7 separate regions of the Homo sapiens genome follow, and regions 1, 2, 3, 4, 6 and 7 are each linked to region 5. The links are contacts of gene promoters, found by promoter capture Hi-C in blood cells and fetal thymus (Javierre and others, 2016). All regions are on one chromosome and are shown on one strand. The core of a region is centred on a gene start or on the middle of the fragment in contact, and the rest is flanking DNA. Distances in the headings are between cores, read along the strand shown.

Region 1 (2,700 bases), core at 104-2,603, 560 kb before region 5:
CTGGGATACAGCTGTGTTGCATGAAACTCAAGTTCATCAGTGCCAGGCAAGTTCAACAATACCCGATTGGTCCATAGCTCAGGACCAGACTTGGCCACAAGCTTGGATGAAGATCTTTCAATTCTGAAACTGCTATGCGAGTGTCTCAATGTCTTTTCATCCCCTGTCACAGATGGGAAACAGACTGCTCTTGGACTGGCACTGGTTTTTGGGCTGCACTGGGGAGCACTGCTGGAGGGAGCCCTGGTCTTCTCTTCTCTGGCCCCTTACTGTGGGGTGAGGCTTCTGCATCACAAGGAACGGTGCCCACTTGGAGCCCATGACCACCTGGAGATCACATTCTGAGTACCCTGGGTCTTGGAGTCTCCTGCTTGCTGACTCCAAGTCCACATCCAGGGCCCACACAGCCCTTTTCCCCAGGTCCATCCACCTCACCTCCAGATCCAAGAGTTGACAAAAGGGCACCTGTTTGTGGTGGTGGTGGGTGTGGACAAAGCTTGGGTGCTCAAGCACCAACCACCAGCTGGGAAGCTCTTCTGGTCTAGGCTTGCTTGGATGTATTCAGAAGTTAGAAGATGGTGGCTGGGCTGGGGCTGGATGGAATATTAGTCAGTGTTCTCCAGAGAAATAGAATCAACAGGAGATACATACATATATACATATATATGTATGAATATATCTAAATGTATATCTGTATGTATCTCCATATATATTTTATATATGTATACCCTATATAGATACATAAAGCCTGGGTGACAGAATAAGACCTTGTCTCAAAAAAAAAAAAAAATTCATGGACACACTGCAACACTTGGGAGCTTAGATTTAATCTAAGAACTTCATGATTAAGCCAAAGATGCTTCTTCTCAAAACACTTGTATTTTAAAAGGAAACTTAGAGTTCACGCGAGAGCTTTACAGATTGGGCCACTGGAGGTAGTTTAAGAATTAGCTTGGGCTGGGCGCGGTGGCTCAAGCCTGTAGTCCCAGCACTTTGGGAGGCCGAGGCGGGCGGATCACGAGGTCAGGAGATCAAGACCATCCTGGCTAACACGGTGAAACCCCGTCTCTACTAAAAATACAAAAAATTAGCCGGGCTTGGTGGCGGGCGCCTGTAATCCCAGCTACTCGGGAGGCTGAGGCAGGAGAATGGTATGAACCCGGGAGGCGGAGCTTGCAGTGAGCCGAGATCGCGCCACTGCACCCTATCTAGCCTGGGCGACAGAGCGAGACTCTATCTCAAAGGAAAAAAAAAAAAAAAAAAGAATTAGCTTGAGATGGCTGCTGGCAGGTAGATGGGATCTTATCCAAGGAAGGGCTGTCTCTGGAGGCCCTCAAATCCCACCTGTGGCCAGGATTTCTCCAAGTGCAGCCTGCCTGCAATGTGTTTTACACACACCCAGGGAGCCTACTTATGGGGGTTGTGGGGAGCCAGGAAAGCTAAATTCTATCCAACTCTGTCCAGGATGCTGACACAGCATGTGCCTGAGAATGTCCCCTACTCTTCCTAGCTATGACAGGTCCTCTAAGGGGAGTTCTGTTTAAGAGTCACTTTTTTTTTTTTTTGAGACAAGGTTCACTGCTGTCACCCAGGCTGGAGTGCCACGGCATGATCTCAGCTCAGTGCAACCTCCGCCTCTTGGGCTCAAGTGATTTGAAAAGACTCAGTCTTTGCTTCATGAACCCTCTTGGCCAAACAAAACCAAAGTGATTTCTCAAAAGTTTTTCCTATGTGTGAAACATTCCTGATGACAGCCCAGCCCTGTCAAGCTGATCTCTCACACCCTGAGGAAACCTTCATAGCCACGCTGCCTCGCTTTGAATACAGAGGACAGACAATGTTCCTAAGCATCATACCTCCAAAAATAGCCCTTTATTTCCTTCTTATCCAGTGATGAAAAAGGTTAACCATAGTCTAAAAACAAAGTTGAGAAACTCACACTTTAAAAATGGGAATACAGAGAAAAGGGAAGACTTTTGTTTCTAGTTGTTCTCTCTTCTCACTCTGGGTATTGCAGGGCGGTTCTCATAAAGCAAGCTCCTGGTTTCTGGGCCAGCTTTGCCTGGGGCATTTACCTTCGCTATGACTGAAGTGTCAAGGTACTCTGAGCCAGCCTTGACAGGGGAATTTGGCTCATTGGGAATCTTGGTTCAGGGGAACTCTGGGGTTCTTGGGGTTCTTTCTGCCTAGATCCCCCCTTTCTTTTTGGGGAAGCTTACAAAGAGGAATTGGCAGTTATTGCCAAGTCCCATGGATGCCTGAGTTTGAACTCTGCCTGGAAGACATTATTACAGTCTCTACTGGGCAACTTCTAGGAAGGCCACTTTGAGGGGCCTAACAGCCAAGACTTTCAGAGTAAGAAACTGAACTCTACCTCAAACTGTGTAGGCAAAAAGGGAAGGTGCTGGTTCAGATAGCTGGGAAGGATCCTGGGATAGTCCCTAAAATCCAAGGCAGATGTGCAGGAGGCAGGCCCTCAGAGTTAAGAGCTGGTGGTCCCTGTCTCCAGGCTCCTTCTCTCTCCTAGCTGGCTGCCTCTGCTTTCTTCATTCTCCCAGGCTGCCATAGAAAAGGCTTCCTCCATTCTGTGGGAAGATAGCCATTGTTGCTCCCAGCTGACACAGTAGCTACTGGTCATCCTTAATCTCACAACATCTGTATTTTTTCTCTGGGAAGGGCTCTGATTGGTCCTTCCTAGTT
Region 2 (2,700 bases), core at 115-2,614, 520 kb before region 5:
CTCAACAAATCATAGCTGTTATTCCTACAAGTTGTTTTAAGTCTGGACAAATTTCTGAGGTCGCTATTTCCTTTTTTCTTCCGTTTCAAACAGATGAAGAAACTGAAATCTAGATAAGCTAAGCCCCTTCCTGGGTGTCACTCTAGTTACTAGGTTTTGGACACAAGCCTGTACAATTCCAAAGCCCGAGCTGTTAATGTGGTTTGTAGGAGAACACACTCTCTTCTGAAGTCTAGACTATGTTGGTAGCACCATCTTCACTTTGCTTCTCCAAGTCCCTCTTTGGGCTTGTGGGTCTGTAGTATTATTGCATCACGCATCACTTTTCCTACACAATTGGAGCAGCAGTGAGACTTTTCTAAGTTCCTCGAGGGCAGGGACTGAGCCTTCATAGAGCTAGCCAGCCTCAGCATCCTGCAGTGCCTTGCACCCAGTAAACACCTAAGGGACGTTTTTTTGTTGACTAAATGAAACAAAGTAAAGTCAACCCTTAAACATGCACAGTAGGGCCAGGCATAAAGGCTAATGCCTGTAATCCCAGCACTCTGGGGAGCTGAGGTGGGAGCATTGCTTGAGGCCAGGAGTTTGAAACCAACCTGGGCAGCAGCATAGCAAGATCCCATATCTCCAAAAAATAAAAGTATAATTAAAAAAGAATAGCAATCCACCCATTTGCCATGCTTCCATTTTGTACCTTGGTAATCAAAGCTAATAGATAGTCAAAGTCCTTGTCAGGCCTGGTAAATTATCAAAGTTCTTGTTAGGCCTCGAAACAATTTTGAAATCCTCAACTGAGGATGTCATTCAGCCACAATTTATGAGTTGGACTGGGCTTGTGAGATAAATTTTATCGTGCTGCCTCTTTGTAGCAGGCTTTTTAAAAGTTGTTACCCTTCATCCAAGAATGTTATTGTTTGTTGAAAATAAGATCACAGATCTCAGATTCAGAAGAACCTAATCCAGGCCCTATGTGTAAATGTTGGCTGAGTGCCTTTGAACAAATTTCCTACCTTCTCTGAGTTTGAAGCCCTTGGCTGTAGATTGGGAATGCCAACATCCATTCATCATGGTTCTTACAAGAATTAAAGGAGAAAGCATTTGCAACAATACCTGATACAATCCGAAGCATCATATAAATATATGTTTGTTATCAAAAACAATAATGCCACTGGCCTTATGGGAGTAGATGCTAGTTATTCTCTGTGATACTAACTTTATAAATGTAGTGGTGGCATCCTGGGTAGCCCTAAGTCTTTCTTATTAACCTCTTGTTGATTTATCATCCATAAAGGTAGGAAAATGTTCTCTGAGCCTATTTATTTTATACTTTCTATGATCCATTTGCCCCGTCCGGGAGGGAGGTGGGGGGATCAGCCCCCCGCCCGGCCAGCCGCCCGGTCCGGGAGGTGAGGGGCGCCTCTGCCCGGCCGCACCTACTGGGAAGTGAGGAGCCCCTCTGCCCGGCCACCACCCCGTCTGGGAGGTGTACCCAACAGCTCATTGAGAACAGGCCATGATGACAATGGCGTTTTTGTGGAATAGAAAGGGGGGAAAGGCGGGGAAAGGATTGAGAAATCGGATGGTTGCCATGTCTGTGTAGAAAGAGGTAGACACGGGAGACTTTTCATTTTGTTCTGTACTAAGAAAAATTCTTCTGCCTTGTGATCCTGTTGATCGGTGACCCTACCCGCAACCCTGTGCTCTCTGAAACATGTGCTGTGTCCACTCAGGGTTAAATGGATTAAGGGTGGTGCAAGATGTGCTTTGTTAAACAGATGCTTGAAGGCAGCATGCTCCTTAAGAGTCATCACCACTCCCTAATCTCAAGTACCCAGGGACACAAACACTGCGGAAGGCCGCAGGGTCCTCTGCATAGGAAAACCAGAGACCTTTGTTCACTTGTTTATCTGCTGACCCTCCCTCCACTATTGTCCTATGACCCTGCCAAATCCCCCTCTGTGAGAAACACCCAAGAATGATTAAAAAAAAAAAAAAAAAAAAAAAGAAATATGAGGTCCATAAGTTTACTGTCTTTTGCATGAAGTAGATTCTCCTTTTATCTGCTAAAACAATCCCCTAGTTAGAGCAAATTCTCCTGCTGTTTCAGAACTTCTTGCTTATATATGGTAACTACAATCCTTTATCTAAAACTCTTGGCCAGGCTGGGCACAGTGGCTCACACCTGTAATCCCAGCACTTTGGGAGGCTGGGACGGGCGGATCACCTGAGGTCAGGGGTTCGAGACCAGGCTGGCCAACATGGTGAAACCTTCTCTCTACTAAAAATACAAAAATGAGCCGGGTGTGGTGGCGGGCACCTGTAGTCCCAGCTTCTCAGTAGGCTGAGGCAGGAGAATTGCTTGAACCCGGGAGGCGGAGGTTGCAGCGAGCCGAGATTTCGCCACTGCACTCTAGCCCGGGCAACAGAGTGAGAGTTCATCTCAAAAAACAAACAAACAAACAAACAAACAAACAAAAACACTCGGGCCAGATGTGTTATGAAATTTAGGATTTTTTGAATGTTAGAAAGGCAATACTCTATGTATGCCATTTATTATTTAACACCGATCATTGAACTCATTAATCCTTCTACACAGGAAAACATTAATATTCACATTAAGTGGACTAAATAGATTAAGTTACATTATGCCAGACAGAGTCGGGATGAATGAGTTTAGTTTAGGCTCAGGTTTGGTCATCA
Region 3 (2,700 bases), core at 56-2,555, 600 kb before region 5:
CTATTTGGCCCAATCTTTCCTTTTTTCTCAAACCTAACCCCAGAAAATGAAATTTACATGGTGTCTTTTGGGTGACCTGTATCATCTCCTTGACCTCTGCTTCTTTCTGGCCATATCCTGCCATTCTCTTATTCAGTCTCTGCATTTCAACCATCCTTGCTTTCTTTCAATTCCTAGAACTGCTATGCTCCTTCCCACCCCAGGGCCTTAGTACATGCTGTTCCCTCCTTGTCTGTAATACTCTCTGCTCTTCATCTACTAACTCCTTCTCCTCCTTCTCTTTGCTTAGTTAAGCCTTTCCTAAGTGATCCCCTGCCCACCATTCAGCCCTCATTTTCTGTCCCCAACAGGTCAGGTTGCCTTGTTACATACTCTTATCATGTGTGTATTTCATATCACTTCTCATGATTGCAGTTAATTAATTGCATAGTTACTTCAAATATCTGGTGCTCCCAGCAGTCTGAAAATTACGTGAGTGCCTGTGTTGTTCACTGCTGTGTCTCTAACACCTAGCATGATGCTTGGTGTATTGCAAGTTCTTGTTGTATATAGAAGAATGAATATGTGCAATGCACACTATCTAGCTCTGAAGGCTTTGCCTTTCTCCTCCTGTGATGCCCACCACCTTCCTCATTTAGATGAAACACTTTGTAGATAACTATGCTCAATAAACCTGATGGATGTTTATTGATGGATCCCTGGGCCAGCAGTTTGAGAGACCACTTATAAATACAAAGGTGCACAAAATCATTCTTGTTCTTTGTCTATAACCAAAAAATCATATTGTGTATCAATTGCAAATGAACTATAATGAAACAATAATATTCTTAGGGACTTGATAACAATGTTGACTGTTGGAGACTCTTGAAAAAAATAAGATGATTTTGGGAACTTGTTAAAGCTTGTGTTTACTCTCAAATTTAAGGGAGAATGCATATGGCACTAATAGAAGTTAGACAATAGAGTGATGACTTAATGTTTTGGAAATTTAGGGGACAGGTGTGACAGCCTATTGTGTCTCAGAACAAGCAATTTGAACAAAGACATAAAGTATACAAATGGGAAGAGAATTTGATTTCACTTAATTTTATTTGGTAGAACTTAACACTTGAACAACTGCTGTTTGCTAGACTTTAAGAGTTTTAAAATTCCCCTTTCTCCCTAATGGATCCTGAAGAGAAATGTATCCATTTGTTTCATGGCAAATGTTCAATTGCAGATTTGAGGGATAATAAAAGCTCTTACCTTACTATTTAATTATTCAGTTGACTGCTAGAAAGATTAAGCTACCTAAATGGGTTTGTAACTCAGAAATGACAATATATGCTTATTTTAAAAGATAGCCATGTAATTCCAAGACAAACTAGTGGCAATCTAGATTTTTATTATGACAGTAGCAATTTGGAAATTATGCCAAAAGTTCAAAAAAATTGGCAGTCATAAGTTTGCTTTTTTACTTGATAGTCTTGAATATGCTTTCTGTGACAAGTATTATATTCCTGAAACTTCTACACTGAACACCCAGAGTGAATAATTGCATAAAATGTAACAATGAGATATTTATAAATATAATATTTTTCTATTCAACGATTACATTTTTCTATAAGAAGAGTTTGATGTATATTTAATGCTAGACCTACTTTAAAATATGTACACATTACTAAAGGGAAAATGCATTAAAAGAAACCACTGTATTATCAATTTCTGGTAAAGCTTAAAAATGTTGTCATTAATTATAGATGGAGCACTTTTCCTGTGATATATTCCTATTTGTTTGACACCTGGCAGGGCCTGCACCAATTTATTCACTTTCTCTGTTACACAGCATTCAATCCCTGGGGCCATTATTTCTGAGGGAAACCAAGTAACATAACCAGAAGCCTCCATGAATGATTCATACTAGAACACTCTAGAACATGCTGCCCAATGGGATATGCTGACTGACTAATCCAAATTGATGGCTGGAGCTTCTGTGGTGTCACAAGGAAGTGATCCACTTACCAGATCCTCGAGATTAGCTAAACCCTTTCAGCAGCTGCTGAGCCTCATAGGTCTCCCCTTGTCCGCACGTATTATCTGCAACGTTATCGGGATAGAGCATTTCCTAAACAAACGCACGCGCATAAACACTGTAAAATAGCTGCTTGTCTCTGGCACCTCCGAGACACTTAGTAGCGTCTTTATCTCTTTTATATTGAATAACCTCTTCACTAGTATAGAAGCAGTGCATTTATATTTATAGAAAATTAGGAAACACAAACAAAAACTTCACCTTACCATCACCCAGAATCACCATATGTTAGATCTTCGTCCATATGCTTCCGAATCTTTATGTATTTGTACATATATTTGTATTTATATACACACATATTAGTATGTATTCTGCTTTACCAGTGTGAGATGACACTCCACTTACTGTCTTAAAACTTACATTTTCAGCCAATGATCTTTACCTTTCCACTTCAGTACTTTTTTTTTGAGACAGGGTCTCACTCTGCCGCCCAGGCTGGAGTACGGTAGCGCAAACACTGCTCACTGCAGCCTCTACCTCCTGGGCTCAGGTGATCCTCCCACCTCAGTGTCTTGGGTAACTAGGACTACAACTACTGTCACACTGGGCTAATTTTGTTGTTGTTGTTGTTGTTGTATTTTTTGTAGAGACAGGGCATCACTATGTTGCCCAGGCTGGTCTTGAATTCC
Region 4 (2,700 bases), core at 198-2,697, 560 kb after region 5:
TTCACTGATGCATTATAGCAAGAAAGCATTAACAGAAGTAGTATGTGAAACTGTTTATGGATCAAAATCAGTGACCCCCCAGGCTGCTTAGTTTTCTTTTCAAAAGACAATTGATTTGACACTTGCTTTTAGCTTTAGAGAGGTTTTAGAATTGTAAGTATAGGCTTTTACAATGGAGGAGGTTGTAGGAAAAATGGAGGAGGCCGTAGGAAAAATTTGAACATTTTTACTTCTTAGTCTATTAAAATTACCTGTAAACATCTGATGTAGGAAGTTAGGAAAGATGCCAAGACATACTAAATTGATGTGAAGAGGGAAACTATATATGTATATAACTAAAATAATTAATCCCCAGGTGAATTGTTTCTGGCCACTTCAAAAAATTGTTTTTATGTTGGAAAGAATACACTCTTCTGAAGGTAATGTAGTTTCTGACATCATGCTAAATATATAGTATGCGCTGAATAAACAGGAACATATGGTGTGTTTCAATCATGAATTTAAACACTTGATGCATTTCAGTCATGGATTTAAAGGTATTTGATGGGTTTGAGTTGCAATTATTATCCTTTTTGACGGTCAAGTTGTCTCCCATTTGGTCAGTGGTAGCCTTTTCCAGTTGGCTCCAGAGTCCTTTTGACGTGACCTTAGTAGTTTTTGATAGTATCCTTATTCTCTGGTATAAGAATATGTTCCAAGCTCATTTCCTGCCCCAGATGTGAATCAGATATTTCTCAAGAAGACCTGCCTTTTAGTGGGAAATGGCATTTCAAGACTACAATCTTGGTGGTAGAGAAGTTTATTATTACTCAGCTACATAAAATACTAAGACTTGCAATTCAGAATGAGGAATACAGCGTTTTAAAAAGTTTTTTTTTTGTTTAGGTAAAATATACTTATATAATTTACTGGCCAGGTGCAGTGATTCATGTCTGTAATCCCAGAACTTTGAGAGGCTGAGGCAGGTGGCCCAGGGTCACTTGAGCCCAGGAGTTCGAGACCAGCCTGGGCAACATGGTGAAACCCGTCTTTACAAAAAATATAAAAAATTAGCCTAACGTGGTGGCATGCGCCTGTAGTCCCAGCTACTCCCAGCTACTTGGGAGGAGGAGGTAGGAGGATCACCTGAGCCTGGGAGGTTGAGGCTGCAGTGAGCCGTGATTGTGCCACAGCACTCCAGTCTGGGCAACAGAGTAAGACCTTGTCTCAAACACACACATGCACACTTGCACACTTATGTAATTTACCATCTTTACCATTTTAGTTTTCTTTCTTCTTTTTTTTTATTTTTTTGAGATGGAGTCTCGCCCTATGCCACACTGGATCGTAGTGGCGCGATCTCGGCTCACTTCATCCCCCACCTCCTGAGTTCAAGCGATTCTCCTGCCTCAGCCTCCTGAGTAGCTGGGACTACAGGCACACACAACTAATTATTGTGTTTTTAGTAGAGACAGGGTTTCACCATGTTGGCCAGGATGATCTCTATCTCTTGACCTCGTGATCCACCTGCCTTGGCCTCCCAAACTGCTGGGATTACAGGCGTGAACCATCGCCCCCGGCCCCATCTTTAGCATTTTAAGTGTACAGTTTGGTGGTAATAAATACATGTATATTCTTTTTTCTCCCCTTTTATCTCTCCTGTTCCTTGCTCAGTCTCTAGTAATCATCAGTCTTTAGACTCTTACCTTTGTGAGATCCACTGTTGTAGCTCCCACATATGTGAAAACGTGATGTTTGTCTTTCTGTGCTTGACTTAACTTCACTTAACATAATGGCCTATAGTTCCATCCATGTTGTTGCAAATGACAGGATCTAATTCTTTTTTATTGCTGAATAATATACCACATTTTCTTTTCCATTGATGGGAACTCAGGTTGGTTCCTTGTTTTAAAAAAATGTATTTTTGAGGCAAGGTCTTGCTGTTGCCCAGGCTTTAGTGCAGCAACTCAGTCATAGCTCACTGCAACCTCAAACTCTTAGGCTCAAGGGATCCTCTTGCCTCAGCCTCCTGAATAGCTAGGACTTACAGATAGGGTACATGCCACGATGCCTGGCTAATTTATAATTTTTTTTGTAGAGACAAAGTCTTGCTATGTTGCCTAGGCTGATCTCCAACTCCTGGCCTTAAGCAATCCTCCCAGAGTGCAAAGATTACAAAGCATGAGCCATTGCACTGAGCTGGTTTCATATTTTGGCTGTTGTGAATAGTGCTGCAGTAAACATGGGAGTGCACAGGGATTTTTCTTTTCTTTTCTTTTCTTTTCTTTTCTTTTTTTTTTTTTTTTTTTTTTTTTGAGACGGAGTCTCGCTCTGTCACCCAGGCTGGAGTGCAGTGGCGCGATCTCGGCTCGCTACAACCTCTGCCTCCTGGGTTCAAGCGATTTTCCTGCCTCAGCCTCGTGAGTAGCTGGGATTACAGGCATGCGCCACCACGCCTGGCTAATTTTTTTGTATTTTTAGTAGAGATGGGGTTTCACTGTGTTAGCCAGGATGGTCTCGATCTCCTGACCTCGTGATCCATCCACCTTGGCCTCCCAAAGTGCTGGGATTACAGGTGTGAACCACTGCGCCTGGCCCAGGGTTTTTATAACTTTTTGCATACCAGGAATCCTGGTTCTCTCAAGAACACAGGCAGGGTATGATAGAATCAGGATGTCTTGTAATTACTGATTGTAACCAACATTACACATCAGAAAGTCT
Region 5 (2,700 bases), core at 20-2,519:
CCAATTAATCTCAGAGTTAGATTATTTTAGGTTGCCCAATAATCCTATTTAATCCCAAGTATAAATAAACCAATGAAACCTTAACATGACATATTCATCTAATCAAAGAACAATATCCAGTTGGAACTGTGAAGTACTACTACACAGTCACACTGAAATGTCACCAATTCAAAAATAAGTACCTGATAAAATGAGACTTTTGGCAATCAACTGTAATGTTCTAAAGGATCCACCAAAAACTCATTCTTGTCTCACACACACACCCAATGCCTGTTCATTAAATGACACCAAGAACAGTTTAACTTCAAACTCTAACGCCAATGAAACAAATTCAGACATAAATTAAAAGATGACCAAAAGACTACATGAGTCTTGACATTTTATCCAAGTATTTATGAATGTTAAATCTAAAGTAGTTAACTCGTTTTAACATCACATGCAGTTTACGACCTTCATCAAAATGAAAAGGAATTCTTTCAACATTCTTTTCATCATCACAGAGCTTTAAACACAAACTTCCACAGTCACTGCTCATTTCACCATTTTACAAAATCGTCCCCCATCACCACCCCACATAAGCTAGTCAAAGAAAAAAAAAACTGACAGCTCAGTCTCCCACAAAATGCACTTACTTTATCAAATACCGACATTTATTTTCAAGTGCAAGAAAGTAACAGACATTTGCAGCTCAAGACAGGAAAAGCACAGCCAGCCTTACTACCCCCACTAAATTTCTCAGACAAGAGAAAAGTAACTCGGGACAGGCAAATTAAAACCATTCTACACATGGCAAAAATATAAAACATCTATGTCCTACAATCCATAGCGATAGTACTGCTTCCTCTCTTCCCCAGCCAATACCAATAAGCCAATAGACACAAGTGTCAAATAAATCCAGTGTCCGTTTGAAATAAAATGAAAACCTGGAAAAATTCCCTCCCATAAATCATTTAGCGAACACAAGGCTTTTCACCCAACACTTAATACACTCAACCCAAAAACACACACAACCCACCCGCAAATACAAAAAAAGCCGTAATCAACAAGTTGGAAAAAGGGCAGAAAGTAAGGCTCACTACCCTCTCACTTAAAAAAAAAAAAAAAAAGTCCTTTAACAAAAGGTAACACAGATCTTCAAGTACCTGGTGGAGGTGCCTTTCCTCACATCGCAGATGCTGCATTTAAAGGCTTCAGCACTGTTTCTGAAGGTGCAGACGCTACAATCCCAAAACCCTTCGTCTGCGGCAGGTTTCGCTTGTCTTTTTGGCCTTCCGAGGAGTGGAGAGTGGGGGAAAAGGGAGGGAAGAGGCAGGGAGCAGGAAAACGGGGGAGAGACAGCAAAACACAGACGCGGGTGAGCCGTCGTAATTTCGCAGGAATCCAGTGCTGGAAACTTCGCTCGGGAGACCACCCACCCACCCTTTCCGGGGACTGGAAGAGAGAGCGAGGAAGGGAACCGGGCGCCCCCACTGGCACCCTGCAAGCCCCGGGCCCGGGCCGGATAGCCTCGCACACCAGGCGGTGGCGGCGGCGCCCCGGGAAGGGCCGCGGCGGGCGCAGGAAGCGGGCGGACTTGTGGACTTGAGCGTGGGGCTGGGGGGGCCGGGAGGGGAGCCGCGGGCCGGATCTGGAGGGGGCGCGCAGGGGCAGCCCGAGGCCGGCGACGGGGAGTGGGCCGGCTCCTTCCCTCTCCACTCCCAAGCTCGCGCCCTCCCTCCCTCCCCACCTGGTTAAATCCATCACAGTCTCCGGACGAGACTAGTCCCCGCCAGCGCCGCCTCCGCCGAGTGACTGACGAGGGGCGGGGCCTGGCGCCGCGCGTCACGCGCCGTGCGGCCAATGGGAGGGCGGCGGCCGGCGCCGCGAGGGCGGAGGCGGGGCGCGGGGGAAGGCGGGGCGTGGCGGACGTGGGCCGGGCGGTCGGTGTGCGTGCCCGGGAGTGTGTGCGCGCTGGGGGCGCGCGTGCCTGTCGGTGGCCCCGCGGCCCGGCGCGGCGGAGCGTGCAAGCCCGGCGGGGCGCACGTGGCCGCGCCCGGGAGCTGGCAACTGGCTTCGGGCCCCGCACGGCGCCCCGTGAGGCTGTTGCCGGGACCCCGGCCCCGAAGCCGCCCCGGGGAAGTAGTTCCACGCAGTTTGCGCGCGCCGCGGGAGCTTGCAACAGCCTCACCGCTCGCAGCGCCTCGAGGCTTGCAGTGCCCAGGGGCCGACAAGGTCCACCTTTGGACCGCGTTCCCCCGCGCCCCTCTGTTCCTCTGCCATGCGGAGCTTTGTATTTGCCTCTTCTGAAGTCCCTGCGTCCGGCCGAGACGCTGGCCCGAAGCCCCACTCCCTGTCAGGCCCCTGTCGCGGGAGGGAACAGTAGAGAAAGGGCGTGGCATAACTAAATGCCCCCAGGCCAGACTCTGAGCTTCTGCTGGCGGACTCCTCCTGGGATCCTCCTCTCCCCTAGAGTCTAAATAGGGCGTTTCCTTAGGGAAGTTGCTATTCAAATTCTGGCGACCACATGCCCGCATTAAAACCTCGTGCCTCAGCTCCTTCATCTCCAAAATGGGGCTCATCCTCCCAGGGTTGTTTTGAATATTCGGAGAAATCAGGCATGGAAGGTTCGCTGATGGATGCCTGGTATTCACGAAGGACCAAAACAAGATATTGGGTATTAGGAGCTATTATAACTGGGCCTGAATTGTGCACCATTTCCCC
Region 6 (2,700 bases), core at 172-2,671, 740 kb before region 5:
TGGGCTGTCTTGCTGTGTCCAGGGCAGCAAGTACTTGGAATCAATCTTTCCACCATCCTCCATGATCAATACTGACCTAGAAAACCTCTTCTTCTGAAGGAAGAGCCCTCATTTCCCAAGGGTTTGGAAAGCAATCTGCTGCCCTAACTTAACTGCACAACTCCAGTCAGGCGGCTTGACCTGCGGATATGAAGTCTTGATATTATCGACAGCACACAGGATAGGTTTGGCATATGCAGGGGAAACATTTTCTTAATTTCAATAGGTTATATATACTCTTTAGGAAGACTTTCTGCTTATGATAAACGATGCTGAATTTCCACTTATAGAGGAAATATGGTTTCTGTTTTATGCAAATTTAAATAAGAAGTCAAGTTATAAGAAATACTGGGTAGAATGTACCACAAGTGAGATAGGTGTGGCAAAATCTTTAAGGCGATACACCAAATAACTGATGTTCGAGACAGAGTGCTGTACAGGAATGAGTTTTCAGGGGTGGAATTTTTAGTCTTGTAGCAGATAAGGCTGAAAGAAACTGGAGAAGGGAGACTTCTCTTGCAAATCACAAATGGCAGGTAGCTCTTCATTCTCCAACAGGTAAAACAGGGCTTGTTCAAAAGCCGTGTTCTATTTTTTTTTCTCCCAGAGATGTGGGTCTTGCCATGTTTCCCAGGCTGAACTCGAACTCTTGGGCTCACGCAATCCTCCCACCTCAGCTTCCTGAGTAGCTGAGATCACAGGCATGAGCCAATGCACCCGGCTAAAAGCCATTTTCTATTCTGCACTGCAACCACTGAGGATGCAAAATCACAAGAGAAATGTGGAAAATTTGGACAGGTTCACAAAGGAGTAAGAGAATCAATAAGCATCTGGAAAATACGCCTAGATGTAAAATGGAATTTTCCAAGAAAGTTAGGAAAGTAGAAATGAATTTAACTCCAGGCAGAGAGAATTATTGTTAGGTGTGATGAAAGTGTCCTCAGCAGGGGTTCCCAGGTCCTTTGGAGGCTGAGTCTCCTCCACTCCTCAATCACGGGGAGTAAAAGAAAGAGAATTGGACTGGGAGGGAATTCTAGTCCTAGAGGCAAGGCATGACTGGCTCTTTCCAATCATGGAATGTTTGGGCCTCTTACCTCCAGCCTCAGTCTCCTCAACTAATAGACGGGGTAACGATTCCTCTCCCAAACCATCTACTTTGATTTGCTAAAGGGCCTCAAAGTATAAAAAGACTCATATGTCTTTAATAAGACAATCATTAATATCACATGATTTTTACCTTTCATCTAAACACATATGGGAGGAAAACACAGACATAATTGGAGAAGCAGTTTTTTTTAGTGCTAATGGAGTGAGAGTAAAAGGATCAACGTACAGGCCAAAGTGGTTCATGCCTGTAATCTGAGCACTTTGGGAGGTCAAGGAGGGAACACAGCTTGAGGTCAGAAATTCGAGACTAGCCTGAGCAACATAGCAAGACCCCATCTCTACAAAAAAAATAAAATAATTTAGCTGGGTGTGGTAGCACATGGCTATAGTCCCAGATACTTGGGAGGAGGCTGGGGTGGGAGGATCTCTTGAGACCAGGAGTTTGAGGCTGCAGTGAGCTATAATAGCACCACTGCACTCCTGCCTGGGTGACAAAGTGAGACCCTGTTTCTGAAGAAAAAAAAATTAATATACAATCCTAGAATAAAATAAAAAGACAGTGGGACAAAAGCATATCCTCAAATTACTTACAAGATAGTATCCTGGCCAGTTCTTAAATACTAAGGACAATTTATCAGCTGTTATGGACACTCGCAGGCTGAAAACTCAAAAGTTATTGATAAGTTAAATATCTTTACATACACCTCTGTGTTAGTGGTGGTGCGATCCAGAGTATAATCACTTGAAATAAATAATCTAGAAGCAGTGGTATATAGTTTCCTGATATAAAACATGACTGAAGAAAGCACGAAAAGATATCTCAGTAGAAGTAGACAAATTATGGCAGATGATTGGGTACTTACTATGGCTTTTTACCTCATTGTATCATTTAAGTCTCATAACAGCATGATAAAATTACCATCACAATTATTTCCATCTTACAGATGAGTAAACTGAGATTCAGACAGGTTATATAACTTGTCCAAGCTAGTAAGTGTCACATATGGGACATCAACCAAGGCATTGTGACAACCCTAGCCCACACCCTAGCCAGGTAACTGATGGAGCTGAGGGGTAGAATCCAGTAACACTTAAGTAAAAGCTGGCCACATCTGAGGGCTAAGTGCCAAGCATTACTAAGAACTATATACCATCTCATCTAACTTTCACTCTACCTTAGCGAGTAGGCACTATTACTACCTCAGTTTTACAGATGAGAAACTGAGGGAGCAGAGACAGCTGAGACAGAAAGGAATTTCCTGATCCTTAGGGCAGTGTTTATCAGCCATTTTTTTCACTGTTCCCCCCTTAGGCCCTAAAAGAACCCTTTTTCCTAATCACCTATGACGAAATTTTAATACCACAGAGACACCGTATGTTTATGGACTGCATGGACATCTATGCTTTGTACGTAAAAAGAATGAGATTTGTTCACTGATCTACTTCCCCTGCAAGAATCAACTTTGGCCCCCACTGAGAATGTGCAGCCCACAGAATTCTTACGGGAGCAGTCTGTTGTGACTCAGGAAAGTGGTTCATTTATTAACTTCTAAT
Region 7 (2,700 bases), core at 5-2,504, 710 kb before region 5:
TAACACCCGACCCTCTCATCTCCTGCCAGACAGCAGCCTGAACAACAGTCCTCAAACACTGGTTTGCTTCTGCCTGCTCTCAGAAAAAAACCCAGACTCTTTCTGGTGGCCAACAGTACTTGGCATCTTCTGGATCCTTCCTGCCTTTCCAAATCCATGGCTGATCTCTCCCCCTGCCTCAAAGCTTCTCTGTGGCCACAGGGCACCTGCATATGCTGTTCTTTCTCCTGAACTGCTAGTCCCTCCGCTTGCATGGCTGACTCCTTCTCCTGCCTTAGGCCTCCACTCTAAAGCAGGTCTTCTCCCCTTCCTCATTATTTTTTTCAGTGCACGTGTCAGCTGCACACATCAACTGCCGATCTTCCGAAACAGAATATCCAGTCCAAGTGGGGAGGGCCAGGCCTCTCTTGTCCACCTTTGTCCACCCAGTGCCTAGTGCAGGGCCTGTCCATGGCTGGCACACCAGCAACATTTATTAAGGAAACAAACTGGGTATACAGCAGATATTGGTTGAAAGGAAGAGTCTGTGACTTTGTCTCCTAATTTCTTGTCTTTCTCCTCTGCCAGTGTATCTTTCTCATGGACGGCATGTTGGTCTTCCTAAAAAGCACTTTTGTCCTATTACTTCTTTGTTCAAAAGCCCTAAAGCGCTGCCTGTTTCTCACAGGCTGAGGTCTGAAATCTGGAATCTAGCCTTTGAAATTGTCCACACCTTGACCCCCTTTTTCAAATGCATTTGCGAGTATATTTCCAAATATATTTAGAGAGATATAATTATACACCTATATTTACATATACTTGGAATATATATGTTAAATCTATATATTTGGAGAAACAGCTATACATGGAAATATATATATTCCAAACAGATTTGTCCCTATTTCTTGGTGCATTTTCAGCTCTGCCACAACATGAGCTCCCGAAGACAGGCCTGGGCCCACCCCCTCCACCACTGTCTTCTGGGTTCCTAGCACGGTGTCTGGCACATGGGAGACCCAGCTTTACTGAATCAATGATGGGCTTACTCCCCACTTGGTAAACACACCATATGTACTCATATCTCCACACTTTTGCCTGAGACCTTTCTTCTCTCCTCTGACCATCTAAATTGTCTAACCATCCTTCAAGGGCCAGGCCAAGTTCCCTCACAGGGAATCAGTCACCAAACACACCCCAGATAGGGACAAGAGATTCACAGAGTTCTAGAGACACAGCTGGGCAGTGCCCAAACTACTTTCCTGATTTAAAAAAAAATCTCTTCCCTGATTTAAAAAAAAAAAGTCCCAACGATGTCAGTATATAGGTTTTGTGGCCAGTCTAAGAGCTCTGATTAAAGACCTTTGTTGTGGCCACACAGAATTCCACTGATTGGAGGAGTAATGATTTGTATAACCAACTCCTCCTGTTAGGCACACAGATTATTACCAGTGATTGTGGCTATCATGTGCAACCCTGTAATAAACACTCTGCCAATCACTGGCTTCTTATCAAAGAGTAGTTCTGAACATTCCTGGCCAGCCAATCAATCAGAGATACAGAGATAGCTTACATCAGAAACTGGACTGAAGGGGAGAGCCGGCAGGCCTCAAATTGGTCTTCAGCAATTTTTAAAAGAAAGGAAACGATGAGCAGTAGGGAGGCAATGTGATCAGAGGAAAGTCCAAAAACATGTGCTTGAGCCAATGTCTAACAGCCATGTGCTTTGGGACAAATCGGTGAACCTCTGAGTCTCCTTTTTTCTCAATTAAAAAATGAGTGTGCCAATAACACCTGCTTTGCAGTGCTGCCTGAAGGATCAAATCAGGAACATTTGGTGAGGCTCTACATAAAAGTCAAAAAAAGGTCACCCAAGTGTTGATTCTCGTTTCCTTATCACAGTTCCTGGAGGGGATAACCCTACATCTTCTCTGCTTTTTGAATACGAGTGTCCTCCTTTGTATGCTCGTTGGGGATCTAGAGACAGGTGGAGTGAACAACTGTCCCAATTTGCCTAGGACTGTTCCAATTTGAGCACTGAAAGTTCTGAGTCCCAGAAAACCCTTTGGTCCTGGGAAAACCCGAACGGTAGATACACAAGGAGCGGGTCCTGGAGCACTGCCTGTTCCAGAGGATTTCAGCAACCATCTTGGAGGCCTCTAATCCCCACTATGAGCTGATAACTGCTCGCCTAGTGGGATAAATCAACAGCAAGCAAGTCATTTGTTTACATCTAAGAAGCTGCTTTAAGGATAAGATTTTGTTTTGGGGATTTCATTTACGGTTCATAGATCATTTAGGGGAACATTTTGTAAGCCAGTTCTCTGAGGAAGTGTATTGTGCTTTCCGAAGCTTTATTTTAAGCTGAAATAATCATATTTATGACATAAGAAATCTTGATACAGAAAATATAAGCTGATTTGGCAAAATATTAGGAGGTTATGAGTCAGGCTGCAAAAAGACCTCCTGTACCATCTTTCCCTGTACCATATTTAACCCAAGCTTCCTGAGGGGTGGGGAGCTCACCTTTGAGGTCCTCAGAGACTATTATAAAGTACTGCTCATGTACTGGGAAGTCAATAAATATCTGAATAATGAATCCTTCTGTGATTTAAAACCATTCATTAAAGTGTAGATTGAAATACTTTATAAGTCATTTACTTCTTAAGAGCTAAGTACACTAAAGTTTGAGAAGCCATTATCAATTGATGAACAATTAGTAAA

What was found. The method cuts DNA at HindIII sites, captures the fragments that hold promoters and counts their contacts. A CHiCAGO score of 5 or more calls a contact.
Region 1: a contact is called between a fragment that was not itself captured here and the fragment with the promoter of RYBP in region 5, in 6 of 17 cell types (M0 macrophages, megakaryocytes, M1 macrophages and 3 more). The highest score is 7.4, in M0 macrophages.
Region 2: a fragment that was not itself captured here is called in contact with the fragment with the promoter of RYBP in region 5 in 1 of 17 cell types (naive B cells); the score reaches 6.8 in naive B cells.
Region 3: a contact is called between a fragment that was not itself captured here and the fragment with the promoter of RYBP in region 5, in 2 of 17 cell types (naive B cells and M1 macrophages). The highest score is 5.2, in naive B cells.
Region 4: a fragment that was not itself captured here is called in contact with the fragment with the promoter of RYBP in region 5 in 2 of 17 cell types (naive CD8 T cells and total CD8 T cells); the score reaches 5.3 in naive CD8 T cells.
Region 6: a contact is called between a fragment that was not itself captured here and the fragment with the promoter of RYBP in region 5, in 1 of 17 cell types (M0 macrophages). The highest score is 5.2, in M0 macrophages.
Region 7: a fragment that was not itself captured here is called in contact with the fragment with the promoter of RYBP in region 5 in 5 of 17 cell types (naive CD4 T cells, neutrophils, naive B cells and 2 more); the score reaches 6.1 in naive CD4 T cells.

Annotation. Positions count from the first base shown.
Region 1 is chr3:71,888,945-71,891,644 of GRCh38, forward strand. No RefSeq gene overlaps it. Among named protein-coding and RNA genes, the nearest start is that of PROK2, 110 kb to the left of the region's middle. The HindIII fragment of the contact is 1,718 bases long and covers 495-2,212 here.
Region 2 is chr3:71,927,559-71,930,258 of GRCh38, forward strand. No RefSeq gene overlaps it. Among named protein-coding and RNA genes, the nearest start is that of PROK2, 140 kb to the left of the region's middle. RefSeq lists an enhancer at 264-1,129. The HindIII fragment of the contact is 6,016 bases long and covers 1-2,700 here.
Region 3 is chr3:71,844,378-71,847,077 of GRCh38, forward strand. No RefSeq gene overlaps it. Among named protein-coding and RNA genes, the nearest start is that of PROK2, 61 kb to the left of the region's middle. The HindIII fragment of the contact is 812 bases long and covers 900-1,711 here.
Region 4 is chr3:73,000,366-73,003,065 of GRCh38, forward strand. The region is part of intron 2 of PPP4R2 (protein phosphatase 4 regulatory subunit 2); the gene reads left to right. Among named protein-coding and RNA genes, the nearest start is that of PPP4R2, 4.9 kb to the left of the region's middle. The HindIII fragment of the contact is 3,648 bases long and covers 1-2,700 here.
Region 5 is chr3:72,445,354-72,448,053 of GRCh38, forward strand. RYBP (RING1 and YY1 binding protein) reads right to left here and starts at 1,270. Exons shown (of 4, transcript NM_012234.7): 1 at 1,143-1,270. The coding sequence starts at 1,270. RefSeq lists silencers at 1,587-1,646, 1,707-2,116. The HindIII fragment of the contact is 10,688 bases long and covers 1-2,700 here.
Region 6 is chr3:71,705,166-71,707,865 of GRCh38, forward strand. The region is part of intron 2 of EIF4E3 (eukaryotic translation initiation factor 4E family member 3); the gene reads right to left. Among named protein-coding and RNA genes, the nearest start is that of EIF4E3, 19 kb to the right of the region's middle. The HindIII fragment of the contact is 4,662 bases long and covers 1-2,700 here.
Region 7 is chr3:71,731,136-71,733,835 of GRCh38, forward strand. It overlaps a transcript of EIF4E3 not described here. Among named protein-coding and RNA genes, the nearest start is that of EIF4E3, 7.1 kb to the left of the region's middle. The HindIII fragment of the contact is 2,144 bases long and covers 183-2,326 here.